3 separate regions of the Homo sapiens genome follow, and all the other regions are linked to region 3. Evidence: promoter capture Hi-C in human tissues and cell types (Jung and others, 2019). All regions are on one chromosome and are shown on one strand. The core of a region is centred on a gene start or on the middle of the fragment in contact, and the rest is flanking DNA. Distances in the headings are between cores, read along the strand shown. Region 1 overlaps SLC27A4 (solute carrier family 27 member 4). Region 2 has its middle 3.7 kb from the start of CIZ1. Region 3 holds the start of GOLGA2 (golgin A2).

Region 1 (3,423 bases), core at 114-2,613, 69 kb after region 3:
CACACCCGTACCCTGGCAATAGTACCTGGTCCCTCCATCTCCAAGGTCAAAGTCTTCTCCCAGGGAATCTCCCTAACTTGAGGCTCCCAGGCCTTGGGCAGGCTTGGCCTAGGACGTACATTGAACACCAAGTGTGTTGAGACATCTGCAAGGGGTCCTGAGGACTCTGTAAGTTTATGAAAGGGTAAAGAGGAATTTTGGGGAAAGGCCCTGCCCTCAGGTTGGCAGGGGTGTGAGATGGCACAGGGGGCACTGAGTTCTAGAGCAGAGCCCCTACTCAGATGTCTGGGATAACCTGCTCCCCAAAGAAAGCCCGGTATGCTCCAAGGGACATCCTGTACCAGAAATATCTATTCCCGCTTGTTCTCTACTAGGTGCCAGGCTAGCTTTGGGGTCCAGAGAGGAATAAGGCAGACCCCATCTGCCAAGCTCAGATTGGTCAGGAGAAAGAAAGGGACACAGCACATCTGTAAATTGGCAGTGCCATGTGGGCAGAGACCCTGGCACAGCCTTGCTCACTACTGTGTCCCAGCACCCAGTTCAGTGACCCACACCCCACACAGGCAGCTCAGCATTTGTCAATCTTGGTTGATTGCAAAAGAAGGCACGGAGTGGCACACCAGGAAGGGTGGTAGCTGTGGGAGCATGGAGCAAGGAGAAACAGCTGCCAGCCAGGACCCTGGGAATCAGAGAAGGCCTCCTGGAGAAAAAGCGGCTGTACTTGAGAGGCGCCTTAGTGGTGGTGGAAGGAGATGAATCCAACCAGAAGGCACAGCATCAGCAACAAAGGCATGGAGTCCAGGGCTGGGCGCAGTGGCTCACACCTGTGATCCTAGCACTTTGGGAGGCCGAAGTGGGTGGATCACTTGACCTCAGGAGTTTGAGACTAACCTGGGCAACATGGCAAAACCCCGTCCCTACCAAAATACAAAAAAGTTAGCCAGGCATGGTGGTGCACACCTGTGGTTCCAGCTACTTGGGAGGCTGAGGTGGGAGCATCATTTGAGCCTGGGAAGTGGAGGTTGCAATGAGCTGACATTGCATCACTGCACTCCAACCTGGGTGACAGAGTGTGACGCCATCTCAAAAAAAAAAACAAAAAAACAAAGGTGGCAGGAATGGGATGTTGCCAAGTGATTCCACAAACTTATTGAACATCTACTCTGCCTGGCACAGGACCCAGGGGATAGAGTGTTGAATAAGACAGAAGCCTATCCCAGCTAGGCTCACAGGGAGGAAGACTGGACAGACCAGCAAACTCATTCATTATTTACTGTGGTCATGGTGGGTCGAGGGAGCAGCTGGACTGTGGGAGGCCCCAAACAAGGAGTTTGGACTTTTACAGGAAGCTCTGGAGACCTAGGAGGTTTCTGCTGGAGCAGCAGGCTGAGAGGGTAGGAGTAGAACTCTGGAGCCAGAGAGGCCTAGAGTTCAAATCTCAGCTCAGCCACCCTCCATCCATGAAGCTTTGAGCAGGCCACGGCACCACGAGAGCCTTGATTTCCTTCTGTGTAAGGGGAGGGGAATCATACGAACTCTCAGTGTTATTGAGAGGCATCAGTAAGGCAGTGCATGTTCCCAGCAGGAGCCAGGAGATAGAAGTGTTGTAGGGGGTCTGGCTCATGAAGCATAGGCTGGCGAGGCAGCAGCCTGGGGTAGGGTGTCAGGACCCCTCCCTCCCAACCATGGCAGACACAGCGCCCTCTCTTGTTCACACACAGTGGCGGCCTGGTCCTCCTGAAGGTGAAGGCAAAGGTGCGACAGTGCCTGCAGGAGCGGCGGACAGTGCCCATTTTGTTTGCCTCTACCGTTCGGCGCCACCCCGACAAGACGGCCCTGATCTTCGAGGGCACAGATACCCACTGGACCTTCCGCCAGCTGGATGAGTACTCAAGCAGTGTAGCCAACTTCCTGCAGGCCCGGGGCCTGGCCTCGGGCGATGTGGCTGCCATCTTCATGGAGAACCGCAATGAGTTCGTGGGCCTATGGCTGGGCATGGCCAAGCTCGGTGTGGAGGCAGCCCTCATCAACACCAACCTGCGGCGGGATGCTCTGCTCCACTGCCTCACCACCTCGCGCGCACGGGCCCTTGTCTTTGGCAGCGAAATGGCCTCAGGTGAGCCCCAAGGGGGCGGGGGACAAGCAGGAACCCCATGGGATCTTACACAGACCACAGCTCCCTTCCAGCCCTGCCAAGGCTGTGTGGGTCAGTGGTTAAGGGCACAGAGTGGAGTCAGACAGCTTAGGCAGTGCCACGAGTAAACGAGATCCTGGGGAAGGGACTGATTTCTCTGAGCCTCAGTTTCCTCATCCGTCGTTCCTACCTCATACTGTTTTCAAAAAGGTACTTCAGACTGGGCATAGTGGCTCACAGCTGTAATCCCAGCATGTTGGGAGGCCAAGGCAGGAGGATCCCTTGAGCCCAGGAGTTTGAGACCAGCCTAGGCAACATAGTAAGACCCTGTCTCTACTAAGAAATTTTTTTGAGACAGGGTCTTGCCCTGTCACCCAGGCTGGAGTGCAGTGGTGCAGTCACAGCTCACTGCAGCCTTGACCTCTCAGGCTCAAGCAGTCCCTCCACCTCAGCCTCCTGAATAGCTGGGACCACAGACATGCACCACCATGCCTGGCTAAATTTCACATTTTTTGTAGATACTCAGTTTTGCCATGTTGCCCAGGCTGGTCTCAGACTCTTGAGTTCAAGCGATCCACCTACCTCTGCCTCTCAAAGTGCTGGGATTATAGGCATGAACCACCACACCTGGCCTACTAAAAAAAGTTTTTTGTTTTTTTTTGTTTTTTTTGTTGTTGTTGTTTTGAGATAGAGTCTTGCTCTGTCGCCCAGGCTGGAGTGCAGTGGCGTGATCTCGGCTCACTGCAACCTCCACCTCCCGGGTTCAAGCAATTCTCCTGCCTCAGCCTCCTGAGTAGCTGAGATTACAGGCACCCGCCACCACGCCCAGCTAATTTTTTTGTATTTTTAGTAGAGACGAGGTTTCACCATGTTGGTCAGGCTGGTCTCCAATCCCTGACCTCGTGATCCACCCGCCTCGGCCTCCCAAAGTGCTGGGATTATAGGCATGAGCCACCACGCCCGGCCTAAAAAAAGTTTTTAAAAAATTAGCTAGGCTTGGTGACATGGACCTGTAGTCCCAGCTACTCAGAGGCTGAGGCAGGAGGATCACTTAAGACTAAGAGGTTGAGGCTGCAGTGAGTGATGATTGTGCCACTTCACTCTAGCCTGGCAGACAGAGTGAGACCCTGTCTCAAAAAAAACAAAATAAAAGGCCGGGTGTGGTGGCTCATGCCTGTAAATCCCAGCACTTTAGGAGGTCGAGGTGGGCAGCTTTGAGATCAGGAGTTTGAGACCAGCCTGGCCAACATGGTGAAACCCCGTCTCTAATAAAAATGCAAAAAAAAACC
Region 2 (3,148 bases), core at 406-2,905, 81 kb before region 3:
CCAGGCTGCCAAGCAAGCATGTTAACACCTTGATCTGGGTGCTAGCGTTGGAGAGGTCCAGGATTGAATCGTGACTCCCCTGCCTTGTGGCTAGGTGACACTGGCTGGGGGAGAGGCCTCTTAGCTGGTTTCCTCCTTGGTGAAATGTGTGCCCCCTCCCGGGGTGGTAAGGATGACATTACATAATGCTTAGCACTGGCACCTGGCACAGAAGGAGCTTAGCAAATTGCCAAAGTGAAAAAACTAAAAATAATGCTTGTGCTGGTGAAGGTGGAAAGCCAGCACTAACTTCCTGTGTTGGTTCATCTTTCTGGGAAGCAATTTGCAAATTTTATATCAAGAATCTTGGGCCGATGCAGTGGCTCATGTCTGTAATCCCAGCACTTTGGGAGGCTGAAGCAGGCGGATCACCTGAGGTCAAGAGTTCAAGACCAGCCTGGCCAACATGGTGAAACCTCATCTCTACTAAAAATACAAAAATTAGCCGGGCATGGTGGCAGACGCCTGTCATCCCAGCTACTCGGGAGGATGAGGCAGGAGAATTGCTTGAACCTGGGAGCCGGAGGTTGCAGTGAGCCAAGATCGTACCATTGCACTCCAGCCTGGGTGACAAGAGCAAAACTCCATCTCAAAAAAAAAAAAAAAAAAAAGAATCTTGCACATGTTTTGCCCTTTGACCCAATAACACCATTTGTAGGAGTCTAGCCTAAGAAAATAATCAGAAATGAGACTTTTACAAGATAGCAGGTTGTTCATGGAAATATTTATATATTTTTTCTTTTTTCTTTTTAAGGACAGCCTCAGCTGGGCATGGTGGCTCACGCCTACAATCCCAGCACTTTGGGAGGCTGAGGTGGGTGGATCGCCTGAGGTCAGGAGTTCGAGACCAGCCTGGCCAACATAGTGAAACCCCGTCTCTACTAAAAATACAAAAAATTAGCTGGGCCTGGTGGTGGGCACCTGTAATCCCAGCTACTCAGGAGACTGAGGCAGGAGAATCGCTTGAACCTGGTAGGCAGAGGTTGCAGTGAGCCAAGATCCCATCGTTGCACTCCAGCCTGGGCAACAAGAGCAAAACTGTCTCAAAACAAAACAAAAAAAAAGAGACAGGGTCTTGCTCTGTCTCCCAGTCTGGAGCGCAGTGGCACGATCATAGCTCACTGCAGCCTTTCCCTCCCTGGCTCAATGGAGCCTCCTACCTCAGCCTCCTGAGCAGCTAGGACTACAAGTCCATGCCACCACGCCCAGCAAATTTTTGTATTTTTTTTTTTAAAGACAGGGGTCTCACTATGTTGCCCGGGCTGGTCTTGAACTCATAGGTTCAAGTGATTCTCCTACCATGGTCTCCTGAAGTGCTGAGATTACAGGTGTGAGCCACCACATTCAGCCAAAACATTATTTATAATAGCTGTCTGGAAAATAATCAACTTTAGGGGAATAGCTAAATAAGTCATGGTGTCACCTTTTAAGGAACAGTGCCCAGCCATCAGAAATTATGTTTTCAAAGGATAAACACCCACAATATGATGTGAAGTGAGCTCACTGGCTTATAAAATGCATGCACATTACCATCCCAGGTGTTTTTGTTTTGTTTTGTTTTTTTGAGACAGAATTTTGTTCTGTCATCCACGCTGGAGTGCAGTGGTGTGATCTCAGCTCACTGCAGTCTCTGCCTCCTGGATTTAAGTGATTCTCGTGCCTCAGCATCCTGAGTAGCTGAGACTACAAGCATGCGCCACCACACCCGGCTAATTTTTGTATTTTCAGTAGAGATGGGGTTCCACCATGTTGACTAGGCTGGTCTCAAACTCCTGATCTCAAGTGATCTACCCACCTTGGCCTCCCAAAGTGCTGGGATTACAAGCGTGAGCCTCCATGCCAGGCCTTCCAGACCTATTCTGCTCCAGGACTTTATCTATCTATCCCTTCTCATGGACTCTATCTATCCCTTCTCATGATGATGTCACATACTTTGATTATTATAGCTTTAGAATATGTTTACCCCCTCATAGTGCAAGCCCCTGACATTGTTATTCTTTAAAAAATTTTTGCTAATTCCCAATTATATATTTTTTTCAGATACTTCATAGAATTTTGTCAAACCTTCCCCAGCCTCTGAAATCCCATCAGAATTTTTGTTTGTTTGTTTTTGAGGCAGAGTCTCGCTCTGTCGCCCAAGCTGGAGTGCAGTGGTGCAATCTTGGTTCACTGCACCCGCTGCCTCCTGGGTTTGAGTGATTCTTGTGTCTCAGCCTCCCAAGTAGCTGGGATTACAGGCATGCACCACCACACCCAGCTAATTTTTTGTATTTTTAGTAGAGATGGGGTTTTACCATGTTGTCCAGGCTGGTCTCGAACTCCTGACTTCAGATGATCCACCCACCTTGGCCTCCTAAATTGCTGGGATTACAGGCATGAGCCACTAAACCTGGACCTCATTAGAATTTTGATTGGTGTTGCACTAAATATGTTTAAATTAGAGAAAAACTGACGTCTTTACCCCCCGTTTTTCAGTTTAAGAAGGAGGTAAATGGGCCAGGTGTTGTGACTCACACCTATAATCCCAATAGTTTGAGAGGCCAAGGTGGGAGGATTCCTTGAGCCCAGAAATTCAAGACCAGGCTGGACAATATAGGGAGATCACCGTCTCTACAAATAACTAAAAATTAGCTGGGCATGGTGGTGTGTGCCTGTAGTCTCAGCTACTTGGGAGGTTGAGGTGAGAGGATCACTTGGGCCAGAGAGGTCAAGTCTACAGTGAGCCACGATCGTGCCACTGCACTTCAGCCTTGGCAACAGAGTGAGACCCTGTCTCAAAAAAAAAAAAAGAAAGAAAGAAAGAGAAAAGAAAAGAATGAGGTGAATGTCTCTATTATTTATTTATTTATTTGAGACAGAGTCTCGCTCTGTCTTCAGGCTGGAGTGCAGTGGCACGATCTCTGCTCAATGCAACCTCCACCTCCCGGGTTCAAGCAATTCTCCTGCCTCAGCCTCCTGAGTGGCTGGGACTACAGGCACCCGCCACCACGCCCGGCTAATTTTTGTATTTTTAGTAGAGACAAGGTTTCACCATGTTGGCCAGAATGGTCTCGACCTCTTGACCTTGTGATACCCCCGCCTCAGCCTCTCAAAGTGCTGAGATTACAGG
Region 3 (3,558 bases), core at 274-2,773:
CAACACAGTGACACCCCCTCTCTAAAAATAAATATGTATCTTAAAATGTGGGCCGGAACATTAAGTCGGCAGGAACTGTACACTGTGTGGTTTAGAGTCATACATCCTCACACGTTTGGTAATGTTAAGAAATGCACCAATGCCTCTCAAACTTTTACATCAATGTATCCACATGGCAGAAGGCAGCCTTTCTGTTGAACCTGGGAATTTAACAGAAAGAGGACAACCCAAGCCTCATTTCAGAGAAAAGTCTGGTATACTCTTAGAAATTTATGTGACTGTCATCCCTAAGTACATTAATGTTTTTTCTCTCTCAAGAGAATAAAGGGAGACTGATGCTTCAGAAAGATGCCCCGTATTTATCCTGTGGCACTCCAAGTACCCCAGGTTGAGATGATATGAGGAAGATTCAAGCTGTCAAGTTCAGTTTCCCAAGACCTGTTCCACAGAAGATAAGCAGATCTCATTCCAGAGACCACTGAAGGGCACTCTGGTCCCAGAACCATGGAGAATTCGAATATGAGGTGGAGAAGTCAGAAAAAAATGTTAAAGTCTCTCTGGAGAGTAGAAGCCTGGGGGAAAACCAAACCAATCCCGTTCTCACATTGCCACCCAGAGATACTGCCAATGTTTTCAGTTCACGGGTGAAGTGTAGGCTTTTCACACTGTCAATGTCTATGTTAAGGGTGTAAGGCAGCCTGAAACCTCTCCCTCCTAGGTCCCATAGTCCCCAATCCCCTTCCAGCTGGAAATTTATGCTGTGACCAGAGGAACCAGAAGCGGGATGAGAACACTTAGGGGACTGGGTCCTAAGATCAAAGACTGGTCTCGCGCAACTAATTACGGTTCCGAGGGGGATTGTGACGTCACTACATTCCACTCCTAGGGGGAACATCAGCGCGACGTCCAAGTCGCCGCTCCGCGATGGGGGAGGGGACCGCAGGGCCAGGACCCAGGTCCTTGGAGACCCGAGACCAAAGAACCCCGGGAGGTCCGGTTTGGGGCGGCAGGAGGTGAGGGTCGAGTCTGGAGCGGGGGGCCCCGGGAGTCACGGGCCCAAAGTCACTGGCGAGGGCAGGGGCTGAATTGCTGGGGTCCTAGGTCCTTGGAGACGCCAGCCCAAAGAGCCCAGGGAGGTCGGACTTCGGGGGGCAGGAGGTGAGGGCCGAGTCTGGAGCGGGGAGCCCCGGGAGCACCAGCCCAAAGTCACCCGGGGGCGACTGGCGAGGGCGGGGGCTGGGCGGCTGAGGGGGCGGGGCTGGCTGACAAGACTTTGGTGGAGGGAGCCCGGACGCGCCGTGGGGAGCCCAGCCCGGTGTGCCTCAGGAGTGGCAGAGACTCTGGCCATGGTCCTGCCATCGGAGTGGGGCTGGGGCTGGGTCGGGGGGCCGCGACCCGGTGCACTTTACCTTTTTCTTCGCTGCGGCCAATTTGCTCTGTCGGGTTTCTTCCGACATCGCGGGGCGGGGAGGGAGGCGGGGTTGGGGCCACATCAGCGCGATCCCGGCAACCACTGCGGAAGTCAGTCAGCCACCGCGCAGCTGTGCGACGGAGCCAGAGGAGGCGTAACCAGGGCGATACTGGAGCGCAGAATGGGGGCGTGGCCTCAAAGATCAAAGCCCATTGGTCAATGAGAAATATGAAGCGGAAGGGGGCGTGGCTATGCAGCGGCGTGGCCAGAGGGACCTGTGGCGTCACAACAAAAGCTGCGCACGCAACCGCTGTCCCCGCCCACCTCGGGAGAGGGGCGGGGCCGGCTTTCCTTGGGTGCGCGCGCAGCTTTCTGTGCGCCAGTTCACACTCCGGGTCAGAGTTCCTGGCCCGGTGCACCTGAGAGGTCGCTCTCCGACTCCCGCGCTGGACCCTCTTGCGCCATTGAACCCCCTGATCCGGGGGCCTCGGACCCCAGGGCTCAGGAGGTGGGCGAGGAACGGACTCCACAGTTTCTTTCCTGACTCCTCACAGCCCTGCCCCAGACTCTCCCTTCCCAGAAATCACCTCCAAAGACTCCCATCCAGTGCTCCAGACAACCCCCGTCTCAGAACGCCCCCTTCCTAGAGGGTCTCTACCCTGATCCTGAGAGCGTGTCTGCCCCCTTTCCAGATGGATCCAGTCCCTGGCGCTCCTACTTCCCAACTGCTCCTCCTCCCGCATCCCCACAGTACCCCGTCCTCACAGCGGGCTGTGGGTCCAATCAGACTTTCCCCTCGGATTCCTCTCTAGGACTGAACCAAGACTTACCCGAAGTTGCCGCGGGGCCTTCCGATCCCCTGTGAGTATTTCTTCCCCCACACCCCCTTTCCCATCCTCGACCTTCCCTTGTGCGCTCCCGGCCCCACTCCCCATCCCAACAGCAGCCAATCCCCGCTTGGCCCTCTTCCATATCTTCTCCCAGTCGACTGAGAACCGCCAGGTCATTCCCGAATCCCTCCCCTTCCTTTCCTCATGCCCGCCAGTCTTCAAAGAAGTGTTATCCTGTCCTGTCCTAGGCTAACTCCTCTCCCTCCCCATCCTGTCTCCTGGCTCCTCAGATGCCTTTCACTCCAGTCCAGCACCAGCCATCTCTCCTCCTCGCTCTTTTCACCCCTCACCCAGCCCTGCCTTTAAACAAACCCATAGCTCCCCAGTCAGGAAAATGCTTGGCGTTCACCCTGGCCACTCCTTTCGTTGCTAATAGTCTCTCCTCTTCGCTGGCAAGCCACCCCCAAAACGCAGCCTACTCCTTCTCTCATCCCCCAGATGGAGTTGCCACTACAACTACCACCACTCTTAAGGTAGATCGTGAGGGCCGGGTGCAGTGGCTCACACCTGTAATCCCAGCACTTTGGGAGGCTGAGGCGGGCAGATCATTTGAGGTCAGGAGTTCAAGACCAGCCTGCCCAACATGATGAAACCCTGTCTCTACTAAAAATACAAAAAAATCAGCCGAGCGTGGTGGTGCAGGCCTGTAATCCCAACTACTCAGGAGGCTGAGGCAGGAGAATTGCTTGAACCCGGAAGGTGGAGGTTGCAGTAAGCCGAGATTGCACCACTGCACTCCAGCCTGGACAACAGAGCTAGACAAGTCTCAAAAACAAAAAAGAAGTTAGATCGGGAAAGACTTGGTATTTGTTCATTGATTTAGCAACTGCTGCAATGCAGGTGTATGCCAGATAGCCCCCTGCCCTCCAGGAGCCACAGGCAAAAAAATAATTCCAGGACAAGTATGCACATGGTTCTGAGATGGGGAGCCCAGGCTTGGGCTTGCAAAGAGGGCTCTCCAGAGATGGCAGGGTCAGAGGCAGGGCCTGAAGGGCAACTCACAGTGAGCTCAGATGACGATGACGGGGTGGCAGCCATAGTTTGCCAAAAGCACTGGGCTGATTGAGCTTCTCTCTGCAAGTGGGTTGGTATCCACTGTCTTTGACCATGCGGTAACTCACTGCAGATCATGCCTTTCTCATTCATGCTAATTCATTCCTTCTCTTTTTTTTTTTTTTTTTTTTTTGAGACACAGTCGCACTCTGTCGCCCGGGCTGGAGTGCAATGGTGCGATCTGGGCTCACTGTAACCTCTGCC

Evidence for each region. The method cuts DNA at HindIII sites, captures the fragments that hold promoters and counts their contacts. A contact is called where the count stands out against the background at its distance.
Region 1: a fragment that was not itself captured here is called in contact with the fragment with the promoter of GOLGA2 in region 3 in 3 of the 25 tissues and cell types used here (dorsolateral prefrontal cortex, lymphoblastoid cells and spleen).
Region 2: a contact is called between a fragment that was not itself captured here and the fragment with the promoter of GOLGA2 in region 3, in 2 of the 25 tissues and cell types used here (dorsolateral prefrontal cortex and lymphoblastoid cells).

What each region holds. Positions count from the first base shown.
Region 1 is chr9:128,343,434-128,346,856 of GRCh38, forward strand. SLC27A4 (solute carrier family 27 member 4) reads left to right here. Exons shown (of 13, transcript NM_005094.4): 3 at 1,722-2,116. Among named protein-coding and RNA genes, the nearest start is that of SLC27A4, 4.6 kb to the left of the region's middle. The HindIII fragment of the contact is 5,235 bases long and covers 1-3,423 here.
Region 2 is chr9:128,193,733-128,196,880 of GRCh38, forward strand. It overlaps a transcript of CIZ1 not described here. Among named protein-coding and RNA genes, the nearest start is that of CIZ1, 3.7 kb to the left of the region's middle. The HindIII fragment of the contact is 6,885 bases long and covers 1-3,148 here.
Region 3 is chr9:128,274,484-128,278,041 of GRCh38, forward strand. It overlaps GOLGA2 (golgin A2), which reads right to left and starts at 1,524. Exons shown (of 27, transcript NM_001366244.2): 1 at 1,410-1,524. The coding sequence starts at 1,493. SWI5 (SWI5 homologous recombination repair protein) reads left to right here and starts at 1,793. Exons shown (of 5, transcript NM_001318089.2): 1 at 1,793-1,919; 2 at 2,224-2,272. The coding sequence starts at 1,858. RefSeq lists enhancers at 988-1,037, 1,898-2,027 and a silencer at 1,188-1,297. The HindIII fragment of the contact is 26,420 bases long and covers 1-3,558 here.